Linked DNA regions of Homo sapiens: all the other regions are linked to region 3. The links are contacts of gene promoters, found by promoter capture Hi-C in blood cells and fetal thymus (Javierre and others, 2016). All regions are on one chromosome and are shown on one strand. The core of a region is centred on a gene start or on the middle of the fragment in contact, and the rest is flanking DNA. Distances in the headings are between cores, read along the strand shown.

The links. The method cuts DNA at HindIII sites, captures the fragments that hold promoters and counts their contacts. A CHiCAGO score of 5 or more calls a contact.
Region 1: a contact is called between a fragment that was not itself captured here and the fragment with the promoter of PDGFRA in region 3, in 1 of 17 cell types (M2 macrophages). The highest score is 5.1, in M2 macrophages.
Region 2: a fragment that was not itself captured here is called in contact with the fragment with the promoter of PDGFRA in region 3 in 2 of 17 cell types (M2 macrophages and M0 macrophages); the score reaches 6.9 in M2 macrophages.
Region 4: a contact is called between a fragment that was not itself captured here and the fragment with the promoter of PDGFRA in region 3, in 1 of 17 cell types (M0 macrophages). The highest score is 5.5, in M0 macrophages.
Region 5: a fragment that was not itself captured here is called in contact with the fragment with the promoter of PDGFRA in region 3 in 1 of 17 cell types (M0 macrophages); the score reaches 5.4 in M0 macrophages.
Region 6: a fragment that was not itself captured here is called in contact with the fragment with the promoter of PDGFRA in region 3 in 1 of 17 cell types (M2 macrophages); the score reaches 7.2 in M2 macrophages.
Region 7: a fragment that was not itself captured here is called in contact with the fragment with the promoter of PDGFRA in region 3 in 1 of 17 cell types (M0 macrophages); the score reaches 6.0 in M0 macrophages.

The regions. Positions count from the first base shown.
Region 1 is chr4:53,479,841-53,484,045 of GRCh38, reverse strand. LNX1 (ligand of numb-protein X 1) reads left to right here. Exons shown (of 11, transcript NM_001126328.3): 7 at 2,192-2,326. Among named protein-coding and RNA genes, the nearest start is that of LNX1-AS1, 18 kb to the left of the region's middle. The HindIII fragment of the contact is 5,424 bases long and covers 1-4,205 here.
Region 2 is chr4:53,452,917-53,456,636 of GRCh38, reverse strand. It overlaps FIP1L1 (factor interacting with PAPOLA and CPSF1), which reads right to left. Exons shown (of 18, transcript NM_030917.4): 16 at 3,504-3,717. Among named protein-coding and RNA genes, the nearest start is that of LNX1-AS1, 45 kb to the left of the region's middle. The HindIII fragment of the contact is 1,965 bases long and covers 1,277-3,241 here.
Region 3 is chr4:54,227,881-54,231,980 of GRCh38, reverse strand. It overlaps PDGFRA (platelet derived growth factor receptor alpha), which reads right to left and starts at 2,688. Exons shown (of 23, transcript NM_006206.6): 1 at 2,566-2,688. RefSeq lists an enhancer at 3,390-4,100. The HindIII fragment of the contact is 8,996 bases long and covers 1-3,550 here.
Region 4 is chr4:53,434,958-53,438,971 of GRCh38, reverse strand. The region is part of intron 13 of FIP1L1 (factor interacting with PAPOLA and CPSF1); the gene reads right to left. Among named protein-coding and RNA genes, the nearest start is that of FIP1L1, 59 kb to the right of the region's middle. The HindIII fragment of the contact is 2,246 bases long and covers 1,465-3,710 here.
Region 5 is chr4:53,712,929-53,716,643 of GRCh38, reverse strand. All of the region lies in intron 1 of LOC100506444 (a long non-coding RNA gene), which reads right to left. Among named protein-coding and RNA genes, the nearest start is that of LNX1-AS2, 120 kb to the right of the region's middle. The HindIII fragment of the contact is 1,209 bases long and covers 1,807-3,015 here.
Region 6 is chr4:53,692,400-53,696,306 of GRCh38, reverse strand. LOC100506444 (a long non-coding RNA gene) reads right to left here and starts at 406. Exons shown (of 3, transcript NR_125918.1): 1 at 139-406. The HindIII fragment of the contact is 1,881 bases long and covers 310-2,190 here.
Region 7 is chr4:53,417,743-53,421,694 of GRCh38, reverse strand. The region is part of intron 11 of FIP1L1 (factor interacting with PAPOLA and CPSF1); the gene reads right to left. Among named protein-coding and RNA genes, the nearest start is that of FIP1L1, 42 kb to the right of the region's middle. The HindIII fragment of the contact is 2,302 bases long and covers 699-3,000 here.

The sequences.
Region 1 (4,205 bases), core at 516-3,015, 750 kb after region 3:
GAGGGGCAAACAAGATTCCTCCAGCCCCTTTCATAAGGGCTGTAATCCCCTTAGGAGGGACCTGCCTTCATGACCTAATCACCTCCCAAAGGCCCTACCTCCAAATGCTGCCGTGTTGTGGGTTAGGATTTTAACATCTGAATTTTGGGGAAACATGTTCAGACCATAGCAGGCAGGAAGAAAATATCTCCACCACCATTGTCTGAGTCAATGCAAAAGAGCATGGAATTTCAATGCCCTCATTTCATGACCTTTCTCCCCTAGCCCAATAACCATCCCTGTATAGGAAGAAAGCTGGCAGGTCACTGCCCCTTCTCTGTTGTGGTGGTGAGTGGGCAAGGGATGGGATGAAGAGAGGAACCACCAAACCTTACTCCTCTCTCTTCCATCTCCCTTGTCCCTAAACCAGGTCTGTCTTGGGAATCTTTCTAATCAAATCTTCCATATCTCATTCATTTTCAACTTTTACTAAAGTGATAAATGAGGTCAGCTGGCTACTTCAGCCTAGGCCACCAGAGAGCTCTATTTATGTGAGTTTCATAGGTCTAAGATTTAGTCTGAATGACCTGCAGCTCTGAAATCTCAATGGTCAGCAATTCTGGAATAATGGCCCATACTACCTGACACATGTGAAACTAATCTGTGGCAGAAAGACAATTTGTAAATGTATCATTGTATTTGTCTGCTCTCATGCTGCTATTAAAGACATACCCGAGAATGGGTCATTTATAAAGGTTTAATGAACTCACAGTTTTACATGGCTGGGGAGGCCTCTCAGTCATGGTGGAAGATGAAGGAAGAGCAAAGGGATGTCTTACATGGTGGCAGACAAGAGAGCCTGTGCAGGGGAACTCCCATTTATAAAATCATCAGATCTCGTGAGACTTACTATCTCGAGAACAGCATGGGAAAGACCCACCCCCATGAATCAGTTACCTCCTGCCAGGTCCCTCCGATGACATATGGGAATTATGGGAGCTACAATTCAAGGTGAAGTTTGACTGGGGACACAGTCAAACCATATCGATGATGTGGAGTGGACCTTTCCAATAAGTACTATATTTGCTATTCTGAATGCCTGTCCAAATATCAATGTACATAGCAGAGAGAATTAGCAGAGTAACTGGTAGTTCCATAAAAAATAAAGAAATCAAGGCAAATTACTCTTTTGCAGTTTTTTAAACATTTTGTATTTCAATAGCTTTAGGAATACACGTGGTTTTTGGTTACATGGATGCATTGTATGGTGGTGAAGTCTGAGATTTTAGTGCACCTGTCACCTGAATAGTGTACACTGTACCAAATAGGCAGTTTTTCATCCCTCACCCCACTCACCCTCCCCTTTTCTGAGTCTCCAAAGTCCATTATATTACTCTGCCTCTGCATCTCCAGAGCTAAGCTCCCACTTACAAGTGAGAACATGCAGTATTTGATTTTCCATTCCTCTGTTACTTCACTTAAAATAATGGCCTCCAGTTCCATCCAAGTTGCTGCAAAAGACATTTTTTCATTCTTTTTTGTGGCTGAGTAGTATTCCATGGTATATACATACCACATTTTCTTTATCTACCTATCAGTTGATGGGCACTTAAGTTGATTCCATGTCTTTGTGATTGTGAATTGAAGGTAAAGGATTTTGATTAGGTTGTACATATTAATGTATGAAGTCATCCCCATATTTCTAAAGTGCTAAACCTTTCCTATGCCCAAATATTTGCAAGTGTCAGGCTCAGGATTTCTCTTCCTGCAGTGGCAAGTTACTGCCATTAACTCCATCTCTTTTTCTTTACTGTGTACCATTGATCTTAGATCTTTGCTTTGGGCTGCTACTTTACACAGTGCACCTAATTCTATCTGGGAAGAACTTAGGGCATGGCTTGTGTGTGGTACAACCATTAATTAAAAATGAATTAGCAATATCTGATGATGCCTTTTCAAAGATTGGAAGGAACCAAACCTTCCCTAGTTTTCCCTTGGAGCAACATTTACTACCTGGTTTAAGGATAAAGGAAAGAGCTCTCATGCTCTTGGCAAATTACAAGATGGATAGTAACAAAAAAACCCAACAAACTAGAAATCATGTTTTGCCATAAAAAAATGGTATAATCAAAGTGATGTTTTTGTAAGCTCCTGGTGCTGAATGCAGTGGATGGAAACTGACAGTGGCTAATGCCTGTGTCTTCTTGCCCAGGCCAGTGAAAGACGTGTTCACCTCGTCGTGTCCCGCCAGGTTCGGCAGCGGAGCCCTGACATCTTTCAGGAAGCCGGCTGGAACAGCAATGGCAGCTGGTCCCCAGGGCCAGGGGAGAGGAGCAACACTCCCAAGGTGAGGCCTCTAGGGCAGGTCGCCTGCTCCTGCAAGGGGCTATTTCTTGGGAAGGCTGCTTGTTTTAACATGTCTAAGTGTCATCTCTGGACTTTTTTACTTAAAGAAACACTTTGACTTGTAAAACTAAAAGCCCAAAGTCCCATATTTAAGACTTGGAGAGATAACAGGTGTCTCCCATCCAAGCAGGAGAGAAGAAGGTGCAGGAAAGTTTTGAAACCTGATCATGCAGACCTCATACAGGGACCTGATTTCTAGCCTAAGCCAAATAAATGGCATGTTTTTACCAAGAGTCATCTTGTTTGAGGACTTATTTTATTCACTTTGAAATGAAGCAAGCAGTTTGCCTGGTTTCTGGCTTTTGAATTTTTCAGTCTGCCTAGAAATGAGTGATTTCCCCGCTACTTTTAGTTTTTGTTTGTGTTTGCCGAAGGGCCCAGGAAGATAATTTAAACACTTGAAGCTCATGTAACATTAGGGAGTGGTGGGGATTGGGGCAAACCAGAGAGCACATGTTATATGGCATTCAAATCCAGAAAACTCTAAAACACTGTGGATCTGTGGGTGGAATTCATTCTTCAGGCCACCAGTTTGCAGCCTCACTTTAAATGAAGTGACTCAGCCCAATTTGTACTTCTCTCTGTGGCTTCTATTAGAGGCAATGCCTTAACCTCTTCATTTGGATGCGTGTTTAAGCAACACAAACCTTGTTTAGTCCAAATTAAGAGTCCTATAGCTTTGGCTTGGCATCCTGTTGTGATGCTGATGAGCTTCTTTCAGTCATCTCTCCTGAGTTCTGGTTTCATGGCATCACTTGTAACTAAAAAAAATTCTTAAAGGTAGCTCATTCTTCTTGCAACAGAAAGTAGGGAATGCCCTTTTCTTTCTACGTCAATCTATATGTTGGTTGGAATAGCTTACAAATTGAGTTTTTGAGTAATATATAGAGAAACAATATTCAAATTTTTTATTTTGGAACATCTCTGCTTTATACTATGTTAATTACATAGCCTACAAGGTTATACACCCCTCCAGGTTCTCCAGCCAGCCAAGCCTCATAAATCCATAAATTACCTGTTTCTCTACAATAAGGAGTCTAGACAGACCAGATATATCCTGCTAAAACATTTTATGGATAAGGACTCCGTGATGTCTTTTTGCTAGTAAATGCTTAATGTTTAAATTTAACTGATCATCTTTATTAATGAAAAACTAGTTTATTAGCTTAATTAATTAATTGAAGTTTTTATCCAATTAACTAATTTTAGTTGAATTAACTAGAATACGTCATATTCTAAGTCATCAAATTATGGAGAAGGTAGCCTCCATCTGCACTGTGGTTTTAGAATTCCTTCCACCTCCTCATCATGAAAGAGCTGGGAGGATCTGGTCACATTTCTGCTGCAACCCTCTGTCATATGTCTTAATTCCTGGAAACGTGCAAACTGACTTAGTCGGAATTGTAATTATTTCCGTTTTAACTTATATTCTATCTGACTTCTGAAATATCCTCACAAAAAAGTAACATATTTAAAAAAACTGAGACATATATGGCTCTTTGATTATTTCAGTTTTTATATTCTTACTAAAATCTTGTTTGGTTTAGGAAACCAGGTAGCTTTTTAAAAATAAGAGCTTAAACAATTCAAAGAAATACCAAAGAAGACAAAGCAGGATTTGTGGGACAGAAAACTTTTAGCCAATTAAAAAAGTTAAGGAATGCTAGGCATCAAATTTTGCATGGTTTACCTCTGTGGGGAGGCAAGGCCTATGAGCAGAAAGAGTCATAGAGCGACTAAGTGCACATGGAATGTTTATTTCTGATGTAGGGTTTTGAGGTACATGGGTAGGTCATTCTGTTATTCTTTATGCTTTTTTA
Region 2 (3,720 bases), core at 1,010-3,509, 770 kb after region 3:
AAAAAACAGAAGTTGAAACTGGCCTGTAATTTTCAAAACAATGGCCCTGTAATTTGTAAAGCAACATATACTACATGCCATACTGCTAAAATACCAGCCTTCAGAAACCTTTACTTATACTTCACTTGGATTTTCCAGAGTGTAATTTTTTCCTGGGATAATTCAGAACAACTCAAAATTCCTCCACTTTTTGCCTCTGTGGCCTTAAACATTTTAGTCAAATTTAGGTAAACATTGACTCCTAATGCCCTACAGTTCAGCAACCTGAATATCAAATGTGGTTTAAACATTAACACTTTTTAAGTTTCAATAAAAACTCAGTAATATCTGTGCATGTATTTGAAGCAGAAGAATTAGAGGATTTAGCCAAATCTTCTATAAACAATGTGTTATTTATGCAAAGAAAATTTATGAGTCCTGCTTGGCAAAGCAATTTATTTTACTCTTATTTCCTATCAAGTTTTGCATTAAGTTCCTTACTTATAAACATGTACATTCTAGAGACAGCAATGCTATCTCACATATATTCATTTCCACATTAGAAACAATTTGACTTTCTGGAAAGTAATGCCCTTGAACTTAGAAGAATCATGCACTTAATTGGCTAAAGTCAACAGCACATTTCCAATTGGCTAAAGTCAACAGCACATTTCCCACCAAGCAAACACAAATCATATACTCATGCACACACACGCATGTGTCATAGTGTTTACTTACTTGGTCAATAAAATTTTATTAAGTGCCTACAATGTATAAGTCATATTAGCAGGAGCCAAAGGACGGAAAAAAGATGAGTAAATCCTCATCAGTTCCTTCTTGTGCATTTTTTTTTGGTAAAGTTTTAAGCTACCGACCAGTCCTAGACAGCTTGACAATATGAGAGGTCTTCAAAAAGTTCACGGAAAATGCATACTATGAAAAAATTATGCATCGATATCAATTTTTTTTGCACCAAAATAAACTCAGTAATTTGTTATAATATCTCTGAACAGGATCTAGTTTGAGGCACTAGTGTAACTGTTTAGGGGTACCATAAGCCGCATCCAGGTAAGTCAACAAACTTAATAAATGTACATGTTCTTGACCGATCCACTGTTCAGGTCATCTCTTTCCTCTCCTTGGGTCTCCCTATTCCCTGAGAAACAATAATGTTGAAATGAGGCCAATTAATAACCCTACAATGGCCTCTACGCCTTCAAGTGAAAGGAAGAATTGCACATCTCTCATTTTAAATCAAAAGCTAAAAATGATTAAGCTTTTAAAAAATGAGGAAGCTTGAAGAGGAAGGCATGTCAAAAGTAATGATAGGCTGAAGTCTAGCCCTCATGTGCCAAACAGACAAGTTGTCAAGCCAAAGAAAAAGCTATTGAAGAAAATTAAAAGTGCTACTCCAGTGAACACATGAATGGTTAAGAAAATGAAAACAGCATTATTGCTGATATGGAGAAAGTTTTAGTGTCTGGATAGAAGAACAAACCAGCCACACAACATTCCCTTAAACCAAAGCCTAATCCAGAGCAAAGCCCAATTCTTTTCAATTTTATGAAGACAGAGATAGGTGAGGGAGCTGCAGAAGAAATGGAAGCTAGCAGAGGTTAGTTGGTTTGTAAGGATTAAGGAAAGACACTATCTATATAACATAAAAGTACAAGGTGAAGCAGTAACTGCTGATGTAGAAGCTACACCAAGCTATCCAGAAGATCTAGCTAAAATCACTGATGAAGGTAGCTCCACTAAGCAACACATTTTTAATGTAGACCAAATAGCCTTATACTGGAAGAAGATGCCATCAAGACTTTCATAGCTAGAGAGGAGAAGGCAATGCCTGGCTTCAAAGTTTCAAAGGACAGGCTCACTCTCTTGTTTCCTAATGCATTGTTCCTTAATGTAGCTGGTGTTTTTAAGTTGAAGTTGGTGCCCATTTACCACCCTGAAAATCCTGGAGTCCTTAGAATTATGGTAAATCGACTTAGAATTATGGTAAATCGACTCTGCCTGTGCTCTATCAATGGAACACCAAAGCCTGAATGGCAGCACATCTGTTTACAGGATGGTTTACTGAATATTTTAAGCATTCTGAACAAACTCTGTTTTTTCCTAACAATAGTAATACTCACTGGGGATGGTGGAAAGCTCCTCCTTCTCATTAAAGGATGCAATTCCATTACATTATTTTCAAAATTTGCGGTATATGTATACAGTCAAGTGTCAGTTAATGACAGGGATATGTTCTGAGAAATGCATTATTAGGTGATTTCATTGTTGTGCAAACACCACAGAGTGTACTTACACAAACTTTGATGGTACAGCCTATTATACACTAGGTGATATGTTATAGCCTATTGCTCCTGGGCTTCAAATCTGTACAGCATATTACTGCACTGAATTCTGTAGAAAATTTTAACACAATGGTGTTTGTGTATCTAAACAAAAGATACAGTAAAAACAGTATTGTAATCTTATGAGACCACTGTTGTACATGTGGTTTGCACTGACAGAATATAAATAACTAAAATCAGGATGAAAATTTTTTAAAACACATACAAGAAAAATTTCCTTAAACATTAAAACTTAACACATAAGTGTGTTGCAGGAAAGACTAATAGGAAAACCCACTTAAAAAGTTTTAAGATTATGAAACTTTTACATTAGAACAAAATTCTTTGAGGGAAGTGGTACAGAAGTAAAAATTTGAATACAAAAAGAAATGTAAAATTTCCAATTCTTAAAGAGAGACTATTTGTACATTTTCTTTAAAAAATGGATAATTTTGGAAAATCACTATAGTGTTTTTAATCCACTGGATATATTTTAAGAGAGTGAGCCTGGGCAACACAGCAAGATCCTGACTCTACAAAAAATTTTAAAAATCAGCCAAGCATGGTGATGCATGACTGTAGTCTTAGCTACTTGAGAGGCTAGGCCAGGAGGATCACTTGAGCCCAGGACTTCCTACGTTAGGGAACAATGCATTGGGAAACAAGAGAGTCAGCCTGTCCTTTCAAACTCTGAAGCCAGGCACTGAGTTCTCTTCTCTAGCTCTGAAAGTCTTAGATGGCATCTTCTTCCAATGTAAGAGTGCAGTGAGCTATGATCATGCCACTGAACTCCAGCCAGCCTGGATGACAAAGCAAGACCGTCTCTAAAAATAGAATAATAATAGAAGTGGTGATAATTTTCTTTTTAAATATTAATATTTATAATACACTGGAAATATCTATATGGTCAACTAATTTAAGCTTAAGATGAAAAACTTAGATGGCAAGATAAAAATAAATGAAGGGGTAGAAAATTCTTTTAAGAGATAAGTAAACAAACAAATTTAAGGACTACTGTTCAAGGTAATGGGAAGCCTCTAATCCTTTATCATTTTAAGATGGCTTTCCTATGTACTCCCTGAGCATCTCTTTTCCAAGTGAACTGAAATTCACTTCCTCATAACGAAAATAAATTTGTAAGTGCTTATAAAATACATAGTATAAACTCCTGCACACCCAACAAACCTGTTGAAAACACTTGGTGTAGGACTGTGATCACGCTCCCTCTCTCTCTCTCTGGTGCGTTCTCTTTCTCTGTCCCGATCACGGTCTCGCTCTCTGTCTCTGTCTCTCTCTCTATCTCGGTCTTTCTCTCTTCTGGCATAATAGTCCCACTGCTTGCTGGTGTCCACAAGACTAGGCCACGAAGGAGCAGAACCAGGAAGATGGGGAAAGGCAACTA
Region 3 (4,100 bases), core at 1,439-3,938:
AGGCACAAAATGGGCCCGCCTCGGCGCCAGACGTGTTTGCAGCTGGAAAGCCCGGCCCAATGCCCCTCCCCCTGCATCCCTCCTCAGTCCGCGTCCCGAGAGGAAACTGGCCCAGGGGCGCAGAGCTGGGAGCCTGGGATCTCCTTCAAGTCCTTCTCGATCTAAGGATTTAAACAAGAGCCAGGGCACCGGGGGCTAACGACGGGTTCATTCTTGGCTTCCCCTCACTCTTGTGAACGAGGTCCAGCTGCACTTGGGTCAACCCAAAACTGCAAGCTCCGAAGCAGGGCCTGACCAGGGCGTCAAAGCGAGCCTGGTCGGCCTTGCGCCTGTCGGGGAGTCGAGGCAGGGCCTCCTCATCTTGAGGGTTGTGGAAAGGAGGAGGCCGAGGAGAAAGGGAGAAGAGGGGATGCAATTCAGCAGTGCCGGGGTCCAGGTTGACCAGATTAGGGGTCGGGGATGGGACAGCGCGGCGGCTGGGGAGGTGCGCACGCCCGGAGAGCCCCTTCCTCCCCTCCTGTGGCTCCGGGGATGTTTGTCCGGTGAGATGCACTGCGGAGGACTGTCGTGCGTTTGCCCTGGATGCTCCCTGCTCCAAAAATCTGTCTAGTTCTTGTCAGGAGCGACCGCGGCGAGGCGAGTCGGTCCAAAACATTGAGCAATTTGGCCTCGGAGCCAAAAAGCCATTTCCCACACCGCCCAGCCCGCGGCTTTTCGGACGCGGGGCGGTAGGGACCTGATATGGGCCCCATCCATGCTTGCCTCCCACCCAGGAAGATGGAGTGAGTGGCAAGTTCTTCCAGGCACTCCTTGCGCACATCCTGAGGTCTTAGCACAATTCGGGGAGCGAAGTGCGGGACCGGCGCTCTGGCTGCGGGAGGGATGCACAACGCACAGCCTGCCAGGCCAGCAAGTCCTTCCCGACCAAGACGCGAGGCCAGGCCATCGGCAGCTCTCGCACACCTGGCCCGGCCCAGGCTCCTGGCTCCCTCTGGCAACGTACTCGGGTTGGGCCACACTCGTCGCTCCGACCTGGCCGACACCCTCCCGGAATAGAACAGCTGATCCCACATATTCAATGCCAAATGGACGCCGCCCGCTCCCTGGGCGCAGCCGGGCGGAGTTAATTTCGTGTGTAAATCTGGTTTCCATGGGGGTAGACAGCAGAGGAAGGAGAAGTACGCACAGACGGCTCTGAAGCCGGCAGGGAGAGGAATGGAAAAAAGGCCAACTAGAGAGGACCGAGCAGCGCTGGGCGAGCTCAGACGGCAAGTGCCACGCACCCCCGCGCGGAGAAGGGTGCCGGGTAGGGGGTGTCCAGGGCTCGGGTGCCCGGAGGGAGAATATGGTTTACCTCCCACCTTTCTGTCTTACCTGCAAACAAGTTTCCCCAGTTCCAAGTCGTCCCTAACTTCCTCACAAGAAGTTCGGCACCTTCCTGGAGACCTTTCCTCTCTTCCTGCCTGCGGCCAGAACTGAGCGAAAGCAGAGCCCCCGGGCAATGCAGAAATGATTCCACCGAGGAGGGGGCGCGGGAAGACAGGCGGGGGCGGGGGCCACGGAGCACAATGAGGGCCCCTTGGTGTGCGGTTCGAAATTCCTCAAATCCCAGTTGCTGGAATGCGAGGCGACGACGACTTCTTCACTCAGGGCCAAATGTGTTTGTCATTATTCCAGACCGCCCGCCCGCGCCGCCGCTGTCGCCCCCGCGCTAGGGCGTGCAACCCGAGCACACTGCCCGGCAGGCACCCGCTCTCCCTGGCACCTCACTGACCCAACAAACCGCTCCAGAGCGCCCCAAACCCTTGCCCACGCCCGCGCGCCTCTGCTTGTCCCGCAGCCGCCTCACCGCCGCGCCAAATCTGGCCCCGACTCTCTCCCAGAGCAGCGCCGTCCAGTAATCACGCGCATTCGGCCGGCTCCCTGTGCTGTAGGCCAACACCGAGGTCCGGTCTCCAGCCGAGCCCAGCCCGCCTCCTGCGCCCCGCAACCCCTTCGCGCGCCCCCCTCCACGCTCCCCTCCACGCTCCCCTCTCCCCACCTCCCCCTGGTCCCCCAGCCGCGCTCCACACCATGGGCTGCAGCGCTGTCCCGCCAAACCGCAGGCGAGGAATGAAAACACTCATTTAAAACCTGTCGCCTTCCAGGACCCACTGCCAAGAAGAGGGCAAACACCTCTGCCTCCACCCCCAGTTCCTTGGTGTTCGGCCCAGTATTCACGAACACCACCCCCACTCCCAAAAGAAACCTCAAAAATGTAAGCCTAAACAATTTCTTTGGGAGGCCATAGGGTTGTTAGAAAAACATTGTTTTTAAAAATAGGTCTGGAAAATGTGTGTTTAAAAAAAATACCTAGACTTTCTAACTCTATGGTTATCTCCCACCCGTCCCCAAGTGAAGTTTATTCCGAAAAAAAAAAATTACTCTCTGGACACACAACTGGAATCCAGCTCCTTTTTTTTTTTCTTGTCGCCCAAAGTTTGAAGTTACTTCGCTTTCTCCAGTCCCAGAGTCTGATCAGGGACTTCCCTTATAAACAAAAAATCATTTTTTCTTTTCCCTTACCTTCTCCTCCGATGTTATTCCGCAATGAATGTCCCACACATGGAGTAAAGAGCGTGCCCACGGCCTCCAATGATCTCTTGCAGTCTCCTCCTCTGTTTCTCTCCCTGTAGCTCCAACAGTAATGGGCTCAAAAACCGCGTTTTGTAATTGATTCAATGTTATAGTCCATCCTTCTAAAACTAATCATTTGCTCTAAGTAAATAGCTGTCAGGAAATAAGCCCCCCCTCAACCTTGGTCTCTTCAAAATAAAAGTTTCTCTCAAACTCCCTGCGCTCCGAATCTCCCAGTGTCCAGATTGCGCCTTCGCTTTTTGCTCTTACGCAATCAGGGGGTCCAGTCCCAACCCCCAGACTTCGACAACAACTGGGGGGCGGGGAGAAGCAGACCAGATGGGATGGGGGGTGGTGGAAGGGGGAGGTGTTGGTGCTCTGCCGGGAAAGAGGTTTTGTGAAACTACAAACAGCCCATCATTTCCAGAATGAGTTTGCCTCCCCATTTTGGGGTTATTTTCTTAGACTGCTATAGTTTTGTATTCTCTTTGAAAAGAAGAAAAGGAACATACAAAATTGCATTTAATACCCAGAGAGAATATAAATCTAGAATCAAGAAATGTCCCTTCTACAAACTCGGCCCAACGAGAAATAGGGCCCTCGGGAGAAATCTCCAAGCGGTTGCGCCGTTTTGAACTAGGGGTCTTTTAGGGGAAGGGCTATATAGTTGCTAGTTATTTAATAGGATTGGGCAAACTGTTGAGTCCAATATGACAATGATGGGTTTTTGTTTTGTGTGGTGTGTGTGTGTGTACAAGACTGGGTGGTCTGAAATACGGTACAAAGAAAAGAGGGTCTGTGTAGGTTTGGAACGTTCTCCGATAGAACGACCTTTACTCCCTTGAAGTCACTTATCTGGTCGTGCCTTTGTTTTCGGGGTTATCTGGGCGAGGTTGCCCTGGCTTCTATCTCGCATACAAAAAAAGCTCAAGCTTGGGCGTTTGAGGAATCGTACCACCGCCTCCGCGTCGTGGGGGAGGATGCCTTTTGATTCTCCCTCCGTTCCCTCCCGCCGCGTGGGTCGAACCCTACGAATTCCTTGGAATTGACAGCTGAGCCCCAAACCCTGCGCCCAAGGCGAGAGGCCAGTGTCGGGAGGAAACGATCCTGCCGGCGAGGGAAAGGGGGCGCTGATGCTCCAGGAACCAGACCTGGGCAGAGTGGGGCTTCCCAGCGACAGCGGGGGAGGGGAGCGCGTTCACCTTCATCGCTCTCTGATTTTTGAATTCTCCTGTTGGGGTTGGGGGTCATCCTTCATCCTTCTCCCTCAACCCCACCCCAACACACGCACTCTGAAAATGGCCAAAGTGGCCAGGTTGGGACTGGCATGTCCAACAGCCGTCTCCTCCTTCACCAGGAGGGTGGACACAGTGCAGTGGACAGGGGAGAGTCACAGAGAAGTACTCCAACGGGCGCGGTGCTGTGCCTAACCAGGACAGGATCTTGGGATGTCAGCCTCGAAAACAGGGCGCCTGGGGCTGCGC
Region 4 (4,014 bases), core at 1,338-3,837, 790 kb after region 3:
ACCAAAATCATCCACCCATTCTATATACTATAATCCTAATAACTTTACCTAAATGATTATGTGAGCAGGATGTATCACTTTAGCTAAGGCTTACTACAGCTTACTAAAATGTAAATTCATGCTAAAAACTAAAAAATTACTAGTCAGCCCCTTCAAACTTTAGTCCTCAAAAACATTTAAGTTGTTAAACTTCCACAAAATGTAGAGATAAAAGACATATGACCAAAGAATTAAGTACATTACAAAGGTAGTTAAAATTACTGTCTGCCTTTAATGTTAATCTTACTACAGCAGTATCATAGGACAGACAAAAATAATCTACTGGAATTAAAGACATAATCAAAGAAAAAACCATGTCATTTATAGGTCTTTCCAATCAATACCTACACATCAGAAAGTTGGCATGGCAACTAGCAAGGGCCCTTCTTGTGAGACCTCCATTTCATCTAAGATGTTATTTCAATGCAAATCTTTATAAGTAAATGTTCATTAAAACAAGACTATAAAGTTGATGAAACACTATATAACCAATTCTTTGACAATTACTGAATGTATTTTCAAACTGATACGTGATATCATGTAAGGCCAACATCATTCTCACTTAAAAATCACTATTTAGTATTTGACTTTTCTTAATAAAAGAGAAACAGTGTAAGGGAAGAGAAAATTCATCTCAAACGTCCCTCTTCTTTCCCCTCCCAACACCTCCATCTTCCTGGCAAACACATGCTGCCTAACCTAGACAACAGACTTAAATAAGGAAAGTATTTTGTTTCTTTTCTATATCCTTTATCTGAAAAATGAGTTTAAAAAAATGTTGATTTTCCTGGAAAGCTGTATGTAACAGTAGTAAAAGTAGATTTCTAGTGCCAGCCAAAACCTTTTGGAAAAGTAATACTCAAGCTCTAACAGACTGAACAGATTAGTGGTATTAAAACTTGAACATAGGCCGGGCGCGGTGGCTCACACCCGTAATCCCAGTACTTCCGGAGGCCAAGGCAGGTAGATCACAAAGTCAGGAGATGGAGACCATCTTGGCTAACATGGTGAAACCCTGTCTCTACTAAAAATACAAAAAATTAGCCAAGCATGGTGGCATGCACCTGTAGTCCCAGCTACTCAGGAGGCTGAGGCTGGAGAATCGTTTGAACCCAGGAGGCGGAGGTTGCAGTGAGCCGAGGTCGCGCCACTGCACTCCAGCCTGGGCAACAGAGCGAGACTCCATCTCAAAAAAATAAAATAAAATAATAAATAAATAAATAAATAAATAAAAACTACCTTGAACATGCATGAGAATCACCTGGAGAGTCTCTTAAAACACACAGATTGCTGGGCCCTTCCCCTAGAATTTCTGATTCAGTAAGTCTGGGGTGGGACCAGAAAACCTACATTCCCCTAAATTTCCCAGATGATGTTGCTGGCCCAGGACTATACTATGAGGATCACTGGATCCGATTCTAAGCTTCCCTCCTAATTTCACTGCTGAGCAATTTAGTACAGACTAAATAAATCCCATTCCGAATTTTTATGAAACAAAAGCATCTACCTATGACACTTAAAAGGACTATGAGAGCCTACACCATCTGGCATTCTCAAAAGAGAAGATGATTTCTCTCTCTTTTTTTTTTTTTTTTTTTTTTTTTTTGGTTGAGACAGGGTCTCACACTGTTGTGTAGGGTGAGTGGCATGACCACGGCTCACTGCAACCTCTGCCTCCCCAGCTCAAAGCAATCCTCCCACCTCAGCCTCCCAAGTAGCTGGGACTACAGGTGTGTACCACCATGCTCAGCTAATTTTTTGCATTTTTTGTGGAGACAGGGTTTCGCTATGTTGCCCAGGCTGGTCTCAAACTCCTGGGCTCAAGCGATCCACCCGCCTCAGCCTCCCAAAGTGCTGTGATTACAGGTGTGAGCAACCATGCCTGGCCTTAATTTTTGCATTTTTTATAAAGATGGGGTTTCTTCATGTTGCCCAGGCTGGTCTCGAACTCCTGAACTCAAGCAATCTACCCGCCTTGGCCTCTCAAAGTGCTGGGATTACAGGAGTGAGCCACCACACCCAGCTTAATTTTTCCAGCATATAACACATACACTTAAATGTAAAAGTGGGTGGGGGTAAGACCTGAAATCCTATTTTGGAGATTGAAAGAACTGAGGCAAAGAAACAGAAAGGCAGCATTCCTGTTAAACATCATATTAAAAAGAATTTACCCATACTAAAAATTCCCACAAAATTAATAGTGGGCTTTGCACTCACAAAAAAACTAAACAGATTGTCTATAAACTCATTCTCAATGTAGTCTATCATAATTTTATATAACTAAGGCAAAATAGCTTCTGACATGGCTCTCAATGATCCCTGTCTGCTGGTATTTATGTCCTGTGTGGGGGCTGGACATTGTGACTTATTTCTACCACACACAAAAAAAATCAAAGGATGTTACTTCCATGACTAGGTTACAAAAGACAGTTATTTCTATTTCACTGGCACCCTCTCTGTTGCCTTCTTGGCTTACATGCTTTGATTAAGCAAGCTAACATATTAAGACGCCTACACCAGTGAGGAACTGAAGCCCTGTCAATGCAACAGCCTAGAAAAAAACAAAATCCTTTTAACAAAGAGGTGAGTGAGCTTGGAGACAAATACTTCCTTAGTCAGGCTTTTGGAGAAGACTGTGAGGTCTGAGAGAGACCTTAAAGCAGAGGATCCAGCTAAGCTGTCCCAGATTCCTGACCCATGAAAACTGTTCAATAATAAATGTATGTTGTTTTAAGCCACTACATTCTGGAGTAACTTGTTATACGGCAGTAGAAACCCAATACATGCAATAACCATCTATCTTTTCTCTATTCAAATTCACATGAAAGAAAAAAAATGGCAGAATATGTAAACTACGCTTCCTATTTCTCACTAGTAAATTCCAAGTTCCGTCGGCACTATTATTTAAGAAACAGATAAACTTGATCACTTTCCTTAAGTCTCATGACTTGTATTTCAAAGCCATCAAGCTCAGAAGTTTTACTCAAAATGAGTAGAAAAGGACAAGGTTTACAAAAATCTTTAAATATCACCTTCTACCAGAAATGCGTTTCTATGTATCAGGATTTTAAAAATTCAACACAAACAAAAACATACGCACACACACGTGTATCATCTCATCTACCATCCACCCTTAAATACAAACCAGAATGTAGAAAGAATATGGCAAAACCATTATTTCATAATTAAAACAATTACAAGGTGCAAAAAAAGTTTTAAGTTATTTTTAAGAAAAGAAAAAAGGGTTAAAAAGTGGTACGGTCACACAACAAAGTAACCAAAAATTTACCAGCATACTTCATGTCTAAAAGGTAAAAAAGGTAATTTTACATACACTATAAAATGGACAAACTATGTTACCTTTATTAGGATCTGTTACTCTTCTATTTTATAAAATCTAAAGCCTACAGAAGATAAACTTCTATCTTACACAAAACATTTTTGATAGAAATACCTATGTTTTTTAATAGAGAACTTGTAAAGAAATGATCTCTACCAGCTTCCATATAATCATGAGACGATCAAAAGAGCAGTGTAAGCAGAAGGCACAAATTAAACTGTAATTAGATTCAACAAAATGTGGTGTCAATGATGTATTCAAAATGTAACTATTATAAAGGGTGCATCCTGGAGGAGAAAGCACATTCAAAAATCAACATCCTAAGAAAGCTTTTAATCTCTATTAAATTTACATTTAAATAAATTTTAATTGTGCCAGAAAATTCTATTTATTATAGATAATTAGCATTGCTCTCTGTTTTGAATTTAATGAAAACACTGATAGGCAGGCTTTTTAAATTGAATATAGAAAAACACAAGAATAAATACAGTTTTCAAAAACTTTGAGTTCTTTTTTAATGGTAACTCTGGAAAATGCTTACATTTCTGGCAAACAGTGCCAGTTAATTTGAGGTAATCTGTTGAGTAAGACCAAAAATTCATGGTATTATAAAATTAGCTTAATAAACATTATAG
Region 5 (3,715 bases), core at 1,162-3,661, 520 kb after region 3:
AAGTGGAACTTCTTGGACACCATCAAAAAGGGAAGGGCATGACTTTCTTTGGTCCTCCCTTTGTTCCACGGGTTAACATGGGGATCTGAGAGCTCAATTTCCAGCAGCCACCCCAGCCAATGACACAGAAGCTACATGGCTAAGGAAGTGGAAAAATAATCTAGAAAGAACTTGGATTCTGGATGACTGAATGATACCACCCATATGTAAAGGAAAAGAATCAGCTTTCTAGTAGTTTATGCCACTGTTATTTTCATTTTTCTGTCACTTGTAACCAAGTCTACTCCTGATCCAGAGAGTGTTATATAATAAATGAGGCTGGAAGGATAAAACCAAATCAGTGAAGTCATTATAAGGAATCTTAGGAAACTTGAACTTCATCCTGAAGTAATGAAAAGAGAGTGAACATTTTTTAGTAGTGAATGAACAGGATTGCTTACACTTTTTTTTTTTTTTTTTGAAAAATCACTGTTGGGAATGAAAGCATTCTTGGGAAGTGAACTGGAGGGGGCAAGACTGGAGGCAGAGATGCCAATTAAGAGGCTGCTATAAGTAGCACTGCAAAATGGCACACTCTGAACTGCAATCATGGATGCAGAGCTAGAGAAGGTGGATTGCAGGGAAATAGAAGGAGTGGAATCTCTAGAACTTGATTTATCCATGTGCTGGCTGAGAAAACGGGAGCATTGGAATAACTTTCAAGTTTCTGATTTGGGCAGCTGCATCACTCATGAGTGAAAGGCATTAGGAGGAGCAGTTTACTAGGCTTCCAAAAAAAGACCTCCTCTAAGAATAGGGAAACTAAGCAGTAGAAGATTTTAGAAGTAGGATATTAACCCAGTTTCCAATTGCAAGACCATCTGTCAGGTTTTTGATGTAGTCAAAAGCAAGAACCAAACAGATCTGATTCAAAGTTTAGATAAACCATGCCCTTACTTGACCTTGGGCCCAGTTATTTAACCTTCTAGACCATCAGTTTCTTCATCTCTAAAATGGATACAATCACACTAATATCATTGGGCTTTATGGAAAATAATGAAATTCCCAGCTGAGTGCAAGAACATAGTAAATGGACAATACGTGTAGCTGTTGTTATTTACTGCTTGTTAAGTGTTCAGGTCATCTATATGGGAGCATTTTCTCTTCTCCTGCTTAGTCTCTCAAAGATTCTTAGTACAGAGCACAACATGTACTACCTTCACTCTCAACTAAGTCCCATTGGAGAGTACATTCTCCATAAAAACAAAGGTAATTAAAGAGTCCAGTGTGTGCACGCTAGCCCAAGGAAAACTTACTCAAATTGACTTTCACTTTGATTCTCTGCCTGCCCTGAGATCTCCCTCAGCTTCTCCTTCTGGGTATCTACTCCGCCTAGCAGCTCCAGCAAAGAATTTTAAAAATAAAATGTTCTTGATCAATATCTTGATAAATTTCTTAAAGTCTTAATGTGGTGGACAAACAATTCCTTTTTTAATAAGCCTTTTTTTCTTTGAAAGAATCTCAATTGACATGATTGAACCAAAAGAAAATCGGCATGACATATATAATATTAAGCAGCTATAAATCTGGAAGAGATTCAAAACCCAGACAGAAGGCTTTGATTTTTTTAAAGCACATTTAATCATGTTTTAAAGCAAAATGAAAAACCACAAATCTGTTTAGACATTCCAAACATGAAGAAATAATATTTTTATCAAAATCTTGTAACCTTACTCACACCAAAAGAAATTGTTCCTAAGCAGCGCTGACAACTCTGTCTGAGATGTGAATCTGAAAACACGTTTTTAAAATTATACTTTGGAAGCTTTGAATATGCTCAATGAAATTCCAGAATTAATCCACTCCAGTTTTGCAGTAGGCACTGACTCATCTACATCTCCTTCCCTCTTCCCTTTTAGCAAAGCTACCCTACTCATTCCCCCAACACATACACACACACACACGTGCACACACACACACACACACCTTCAGTTAGAACCAATGGCTATGATACATCAAAAGAGTCACAGTTAATCCAATAGACTCTTTTTTTCTGTTCCTTGCCTCGGTTTTTTCACTTTAAATGGAGGAAAACATCTCACTTATCACCTGGAACATCTGCCAAATGAACCAAGATGCAGAGAAGCTCTGATTTAGGCATGGTAGGCTGGCTCTTCATGCTCATAAATCCAGGCTGTTTAGCAGTCCCTCGTAGAATGCCAAGAGAACTGCATGTTACTGATCCCCACAAATGCCAAAATTGCAATGGGTTGACATTTACTGTGCAGTCATCATATAACAAATGATTTACCTAGAAAGAGACACAGTCTTCCAGTGAGATGACAGTTAATCCTTCTTCCAGGCTTGGAGAGGTAGAGAGATTCCAGGAAACAAATTAGCTTTAAAAAGTCTCTGGTTTTAGCTGCATCGTACATAGTTCTTTTTTAAATATAACTTTTTAAAAGATATAATTCACATATATAAAACACATTCTTTAAAAGTGTACAATTCAGTGGTTTTTAGTGTATTCACAAATTTGTACAACCATCACTGTTATCTATTTCCAGAACATTGCAATCACTCCTAAAAGAAACACCATAACCACTAGCAGTCACTCCCCATTCCCCTCCAACTCTCCAGCCTTAGGCAATTGCTAATCTATTTTCTGTCCCTAGAGATTTGCCTACTCTTGACATTCATATATAAGGGATTATACAACATGTGGCCTTTTGTGTCTGGCTTCTTTCACTTAACAATGTTTTTAAGATTGTAGATGGGAGTTTTTGCTGATATGTTGAATTTCTCTTCTGATAACACTAACAGTTATCATATTTGGAGTGCTTCTCAATGCTGAAGTGCTTTCCATGCATAATCTCACTCCATCCTCACAACAGTAGAACGAGACATATACAATTATATCCATTTTACAGACGGGGAATTGACGTTTATAGAGAAGTCAAGTAACTCATCCAAGGCCAAACAGCTAGTAAGTGATTGAGGAAGGATTTCAATCCAGGCCTGCTTGACTCCAAAGCTTGTGATGTTAACCTCCAGGATCCACTGCCAGCATTCTTAGAGATGAGTTCTGTTTTTGTTGCCCTTTCCAGGGTCTTCTTTAAAACAGGAAAAAGTGTATTCCTAAGATGCTTGAGAGTTAAGGCAATTCCCCAGGGGCTGGACTCGTATGCAATGGGTCAGTGAAATGCAGCATGGCCATGTCTGCAAGCTGAGGAGAAGTGAGTGGCAGCTAGAAATGTAAGGCCTCAAGAATTCCAAGATCTCTAAGGAGAATGACCCCAGAGCTGTAGCACCCAGCATACCGGATGGGCAAATAGAAAGCGTGGGGTGTCTGGCTGACACTTGGAATGCCACCGACATCCCTGTCTAGGTCACTCATTGATGGGCTAATACATCAGATTATTAATATAATAATTAATAAATCATTTTTTCACAAAAACTGGTCTTGACAAACATTGGAGAAATATAAGAGCCATGTTGCTCATCACTATACCCTCACAGCAAGGTTCAATCCTAATAATCTGGGCATGGGATTCAATGTGTTTCTAAAGACTCTTTGAGGAGTGACAAAACATCCAAGCAGAGATTCATTAAAAGCTGTTGATTTTTATGTTTCTCCCAGATGAAATGACATAAATTACAGCTAAGATGCACAGTTCAGTCTTTAATCTCGACCAACCACTTCTTTTAATGCCTACCCTGAAATTTCAAGAAGCCA
Region 6 (3,907 bases), core at 1-2,500, 530 kb after region 3:
TAGAATGTCACATATCATTGATAAACATTTGTTTAATGAATAAATGAATGAATGAATGGGTGTCATGCCTAGCATCAAGAAACATACTAAAACAAACGAACTGAAATTAAAAGATGAGTTAATAATAGAGCAACCTACTTTCATCATTTCCTCTTCTGTTTTATCAGCAGGACACTGGGGAAATAGCCGAGTTTTGAAGAATGTCAGCAGGGAGCCACCAGGGATCATCCTCCCCGGTAAGAAGAGACCTCCAGAGACCTTCAGGAAGCTGGAAAGAAGCTTCCAATGGTGAGCTCAGCCCCAGAAGCTTCTGTCCATGCCATCTCACTTCTGAAGTGCTAATTCACCACTTTCACTAGAGATGCTGAAGGTAGCCCTGTCTTGCCTGGAAAGTGACTGGAGTGGTCCCACCAGTGGCCAATTAATCTCTTTTAAACACTCCCTAATGGTCCAGGAATCAATCCCCTACCCCCAAAAGAAGGCTGAGTCAGTTCGTTTTGTCCTCGTGAGTGGTGAATGACCTGCTCTCCTGATCTGCCTGGAGGCCCCTGAGGTTAGGTTTTGGGTGCAAGTGGCTCCCTTGACAGTCTGGAGAGGCTGTGCAGGCATTCATTACCCATGGCCCCAGGCAGAACCTACACCAGGCTACGTGGATGAGAATATGCAAATTCCTTGTTAGACAAGTCCTGTGCTCTGTTTCACATTAGCTAATGTTCACCAACCCAGTCACCAACCGTTTATGGTTTTCCTTCAGTTTCAAAGAACAAATCTTATTATTGTCCTCTGGAAGGGATTGAAGAGTCAAAGAGCCAGGAAAACCCATTTGAGGGACGAGTAAAACTTCCCACAGAAGCAATATCCCTTCCTTGAGCAACTTTGAGTTGCTGGACTTTGTTCTTCACATTTTTGTTTCTCTTTCCATTATTTCTCATTAGACGCAGTGCCCAGGGTCCATGGTACTCTTAGGGACCCACAAAAATGTGTGAGTTTATTTTAAAATCAAGAAGGAAAACAACAAAACTTTAGGGTTAAAAAATTTTGCATTATTGCTCACATCTAAAAAAATGAAATTTTCAAGGTCTAAGAAAATTTAGACTTTGTCTAAAATAAAAATTAAATACAATGTTGAAGAATTTAAAGTTATATCAAAAATCATGTAAAAATTGATATCACATTATGAAGGAAAGGGCCCGTAAAACTCATCTTGTAGCCTTGAGGTTACCAGATGAGAAAAGTGATCTTGTCAGACTGAGAAGCCTGGTGGACCCAGGACATTCAGATCCCTGGCAAACAGCTGAGAGAATTGTTAGGGGAAGAGGCAATTGTTAAGGGAAAATGCTGGGACTAACATTTCTTGAGTGTCACTCTATGGTAGGCTTGGTCCAAGGCATTTTAGTGATATTATCTCATCAAAGCCCTGCAGCAACTCTGAGAAATCATATAACCATCCAGCTTTACAGAGAGTTTAAAGAACTGCTACCAGACTGCTCTCCCGCCATCTCTCTGTACATTTCTCTTTCTTAAAAATAAATAAATAAATACATAAATTCACATGCTAATAAATCCTTCTCAAATTACCTTATCCAAATGTTGATTTGGATTTTTTTTAATGAAGATTTATTTTTTTATTTTTTTGAGACGGAGTCTTGAGATCTTGGCTCACTGCAGCCCCACCTCTTGGGTTCAAGCGATTCTCCTGCCTCAGCCTCCCAAGTAGCTGAAACTACAGTCGTGCACCACCATGCCTGGCTAGATTTTCTGTATTTTTAGTAGAGACAGGGTTTCTTCATGTTAGCTAGGCTGGTCTCGAACTCTTGGCCTCAAGTGATCTGCCCACCTCAGCCTCCCAAAGTGCTGGGATTACAGGTATTTTTTTATCTTTAAATTAGAACTAGAAAGACAGACATTGACCATCAAAGACTTGATTTGGGTTTCAGACAGGTTTGGACAGCGTTCTAGGATGCACCTGGGGTCTTGAGGCACTCAATTAGCTAAGGCAGCCCGCCTTGGAGAATGGGTGGTTTTTACTTATTTTTTGAAACACATTTTTCAAATGTCCAAAGGTAATTTAAAGAAAAACAATTTCACAATCATCAAGTTTTGATTGTGTTGGCCCTCATGCAAACACCCACGCTGTCCTCAGAATGTGGCCTAAGGGCCATTCAATTAGGAAACACAGAAGATGAAGCTTGCCTACTGGAAACAAAATGTCACAAAATCTCTCCTGCAATGGTTTGGATATGGTTCGTTTGTTGCCACCAAAGCTCATGTTGAGATTTGATCCCTACTGTGGCAGCGTCGGGGGTTGGGAGCTAGTGGAAGGTATTTGTGCCATGGGGGTGGATCCCTTATGAATGGCTTGGTGCTGTTCTCATGTTTGTGAGTGAGTTCTCACTCTCTCAAGACTGGATTAGTTCTCCCAGAAATAGATTAGTTCCTCAAGAGGGTGTTGTTACAAAGCCAGGACATCCCTCAGGTTTCTCCCTCTTCCTCATGTCTGCTTCTCCTTACTGTTGTTCGCCAGGTTGTAAAGTAGCATGACACCCCTTGTGGAAAGCCAGGGCCATGGCCTAGCACTTCTCAGCCTGCAGAACCAAGGGCTAGGTAAACTTCTTCTCTTTATAAATTACCCAGTCTCAGACATTCTTTTATAGCAACACAAAGCAGACTAAGACATGGCCCTAGAAAAACAAACAGTGCTGACTTCAGAAGCTGTAGCTGCTTGCTGAGACAACGTGCCTTATTTGTTTATTCAGTGCCTTTGAGCACCTATTGTGTTGTGTGTGGTGCACTGTGCTGGATGCTGGAGGTTAAAACATAAATGGGATCTAGTCCCAGATTTCAAGTCACTCAAGTCTAATAAGGACAACCATCCTGGCCCGAGCCGCTATAGTACTTTGCCTGGCCTATGGCAGGAGCCTCCTCCCTGGTCTCCCTGCATTCACCCTTCTCTTCAGGACACAGGATGCTGTTTAAACATGCGTGAGCCCACACCCCTTTCTGCTCAGTATCCTCCAACACGCCCCACCTCACTCATGCCACAAACTCAAGGTTTCCATTGCTACTCTCTGACCCCATCTTATGCTTCTCTTTCCCTTGTTCTCTCTGCTCCAAGCACAGTGGCCTTTGTGCTTTTGCTAAATCAGGCCAAGCCCACTCCCACATCAATGGTTCTTCATTTGCTATATTTTTGGCCGAGAATACTCATCCCCAGATGCTCCTCACCTGCTCGGGATTTAACTCAAATGTCATTCCAGTGAAGCCTTCCCCAGTGCCCTAGTCAGTATGACAGCTTCCACCCATGTGGGAGCCTCCATGTGCTCCGTCTCTGAATTATTGTATTTCATTGCACTTAGCATCATCTAATCATTGTGTATTTTAATTATTTTTCACTGTCTGACTCCGCTTTGCTTCTTTGCTTCTTTTGCTTCTTTTTTTTTTTTTTTTTTTTTTGAGATAGAGTCTCGCTCTGTCTCCCAGGCTGCAGTACAGTGGCGCAATCTCTGCTCACTGTAACCTCCACCTCCCAGGTTCAAGCGATTCTCTGCCTCAGCCTCCCAAGTAGCTGGGATTACAAGCGCATGCCACCATGCCCAGCTAATTTTTGTATCTTTAGTAGAGACAGAATTTCACCATGTTGGCCAGGCTGGTCTCGAACTCCTATCCTCAGATGATCTGCCCACCTCAGCTGCCCAAAGTGCTGGGACTACAGACATAAGCCACCATGCCAGACCATCCCTTTGCTTCTTGAAAGCAAATGTTTTACCTGTTTTGTATCCAACTGTATCCCTAGTGCCTAGGATAGTGCCTAGCATATAGTAGTTGCTCAATAAGAATATACTTATTTTTTGAATAAATAAGTGACTGAATAAGACATTCAGGTAAAACAACAACAACCATAAAAATA
Region 7 (3,952 bases), core at 600-3,099, 810 kb after region 3:
TTTTCTCACAGAAGGGCTTCTAATAAGAACTGGGCAGCAAACAGTTCAAAGGTCCATTTGCTAAGAAAAAGCCTAGAATGTGGCTATCTCATATTCCCAACTTGAAAAGAGATGCACTTGTTATGACATTTAATTCAGGTCACATATGTAAATAGATGGCTGTAAACAGTTCTGCATGGAAATTGTGTAGCATCTTTTAAGCTACGTTAGGAAAGAGATGAGCCTTAAAAGACATGTAGGATGGGAAGATAGAACATTTCAGATGGAGGGACAACTATGAGCATAGAGAAAAGATGGAGAGGGGTAGATATGTGCACAATTTCTACGTGGCAAATATATTACCTATCCATTTGCTTGCAACAGAAGTATCATGCACCTTTGATAGTGGTTACCAACCAAAAGACATTCAAAGAGGCAGAAAATGTAAATTAAATGAGAAGCACATAAAGAAAAAGACTGTGAGGCTGTAAAATGCTATACAAATATCAGCTCCCATTGTAACTACATCTATCATTTTACTTCAAAACCGTAGGTGCCTAGCTATCATTTGATTTTAATCTTTATGCCAACCCAGAATCAAGGCTCTAAATCAGTGGTTCTCAACCTTGCCTGCATATCAAAATCCTGATGCACAGGGTGTACACCAGACTATTTAAAATTACATTTCTGGGACCCAGCATCAATACTTTTTTGAAGCTTCCTAGGTAATTCCAATATGGTCAAAGTTGAAGACTACAAATCTAAGGGCATGTTCAAGAGACTGCTAGACATTTTGTTCCCTCCAGAAAGAACTTAAAGTAGCTCATAAAAAATTAATATTTATTTCAAGAAAAATTTAAAGTCATATCCATCAACATAAGAATATCATTGATTACATATTTTTCTACAGATCTTTTAGTTTTGTGGTACTTGAGCCCAGGAATTCGAGATCAGCCCGGGCAACATGACTGGTCTGAAATGGTACTGTTTCTATACCTGTGTGTACGTTTTACTTCCACAAGCACAAGAATAATTTTCTCTACAGTATATACACAATTTATAAAGAAAATATATTCTAATGTTCGAGTAACAATTTATTAATGAAAAATCCCGCCCAGAAAAAGAACCTAGTCTAAAATAAAAATCACAGAATTCAAAACACTTTTCTGGACATACAATTTATTTTCTATCAGTACTACATTTAAAGAGACTGATAAAGCCCATGATGAAAGAGGAGATCCGACACTCACTGAGTGTCTGATTTATCTTTTTTTTTTTTTTTTTTTGAGATGGAGTTTCACTCTTGTTGCCCAGGTTGGAGTGCAATGGCACGATCTCAGCTCACCACAACCTCTGCCTCCTGGATTCAAGCAATTCTCCTGCCTCAGCCTCCCGAGCTGGGATTACGGACGCATGCTACCACGCCCAGCTATTTTTTTTTTAATTTTTTTTTTAGTAGAGACAGGGTTTCTCCATGTTGGTCAGGCTGGTTTTTTTTTTTTTTTTTTTTTTTTTTTTGAGACGGAGTCTTCCTCTGTCGTCCAGGCTGGAGTGCAGTGGCGCGATCTCAGCTCACTGCAAGCTCCGCCTCCCGGGTTCACGCCATTCTCCTGCCTCAGCCTCCTGAGTAGCTGGGACTACAGGCGCTCGCCACCGCGCCCGGCTAATTTTTATTGTATTTTTAGTAGAGACGGGGTTGCACCGTGGTCTCGATCTCCTGACCTCGTGATCCACCCGCCTCGGCCTCCCAAAGTGCTGGGATTACAGGCGTGAGCCACCGCGCCTGGCCTGGTCAGGCTGGTCTTGAACTCCCGACCTCAGGTGATCCGCCCACCTCAGCCTCCCAAAGTTCTGGGATTATAGGCGTGAGCCATTGCGCCTGGCTGATTTATCTTTCAAGCCCTGAAATAGGTGCTTTCACAGCTTAGAATTTATTTAATCCTTACAAGTACATCACATTTAAGGTATATGGGGCCGGCATAGTGGCTCACACCTGTAATCTCAGGTGTGATTTGGGAGTAGGCCGAGGCAGGAGAATCACTTGAGTTCAGGAGATCAAGATCAGCCTGAGCAACATAGTGAGACCTCATCTCTACAAAAAATAAAAAATTAGCCGAGCATGGTGGGCATGCCTGTAGTCCCAGCTACTCGGGAGGCTGAGATGGGAGGACTGCTTGAGCCTGGTAGTTCGAGTTTGCAGGGAGCTATGATCCCACCACTACACTCAACCTGGGAAACAGAGTGAGACTCTGTCTTGAAAAAATAAAAAGTAAAGTACATATCCAATTAGTTTCATTTTCACAGATGTGGAAAGAGGCTCTTTTGCATTGTAAAGTGGCAGCACTAGGATTCAGGCTTAGCATAACCAACTTCAAACCCCTTCCCTTCTTCTTCAACAGTGTTTATCATACTAATTTTCTGGGGTCTGAATTTTTTAAATGTCAATTTTTAAGCTCTATTTAAAACAAAACAAAAAAACCTTGAATGTTTAAAGGTGAAATAAGCCCAAATTTCACTCACTGGAGGACATAAGTGTGTTCAAAAGTGCAAACAAGTTTACTCACTTTTGTACAGAGCTTGGAATAAAGCTCTACCTTCCATATTTATGCTTAATTTCATGCTTTTAAATGTATCAATGATAGGAAAAGACACAGCTCTACAAGAATCTTAAAAAAACAAACAAAAAACCCCAAAGGCCTTCATATGTCCAATAACATAAAATCTTACAAACTACACACTATAGCAACATGCATTCAGAGCACTTGATCAAATGCCCCAAGGTATGGGCACATCTTTTCAGTACAGTGTCTCATCAAGACATAAAAGGAGATAGTCAGAGGAAGAGGTCATTCTTAGATATAATATTCATTTAACGTCCAGTTTTATTATAAGTATTGTGTTTAATAGAAGAAATACATGCATGTTTAAATGTATTCGTGATTTAACATTGAAAAGCAATTTTTACTATTCATTCAAGAGTATGAATCAGTTAAAAAGCATTGTAATATAGGAACATAAGCTTAAGAAAAATAAACTATCACTTGAAAATTAAGAGGAACAGAACTTGGTAACATAAAATGGAAACAAAATAAAAAAATAAACTGTGCATTAGGATATGTTTACAGCAATCATCCATATTACCAGTTTCAATTTCCTGCACTCACTGAAACTGCTTCACTCTTCTAATTAGTTTCACAAGAGTTAAAAATTTGATTTTATAAAGCAAACTTACACCAATAAAATGCCACTGTTATACATATAGATTTAGCTTGAAGAATACTGTTAAAGTTTGAAAAACACTTACAGATTTGGCTTGAAGAATACTGTTAAAATCGGGAAAACACTGTATTATACAAATTAATAGTAACTAGCATATGATAAGGCCACAACTTCAAATATAATAACTGTTATTTATGTATTTATTTATTTATTTAGAGACCAGGTTGGGCTCCATTACCCAGGCTGGAATGCAGTGGCACGATCACAGCTCACTGCAGCCTCACCTGTCCAGTGATCCACCCACCTCAGCCTCCCAGGTAGCTGGGGCCACAGGTGCACACAACCATGCCCAATTAATTTTTGTATTTTTGGTAGAGTTGGGGTTTTGCTATGTTGCCTATGCTGGTCTCAAACTCCTGAGCTCAAGTGATCCACCCACCTCAGCTTCCCAAAGTGCCAGGATTACAGGCAATGTGCCACAGCGCCCAGCCCAAATATAATAACTTACGAAAAACATCTTAATCATTATTTACTTGCTCTTTACAAACATTTAAGCAATGCCTCAAACTCCACATTTGTCAGTTACATTAACTACAAGAGCAGGAATCTAGTTTTTCTTACACTAACAGAGAGTGAGAGTGAGACAGTGTGTGTTTTAAAAGAGAAAAAGTAGCCTGAGAGAGAGAGAGAGAGAGAGAGAGAGAGAGAGAGAGAGAGAGAGAGAGAGAGAGAGTGTGTGTGTGTGTGTGTGTGT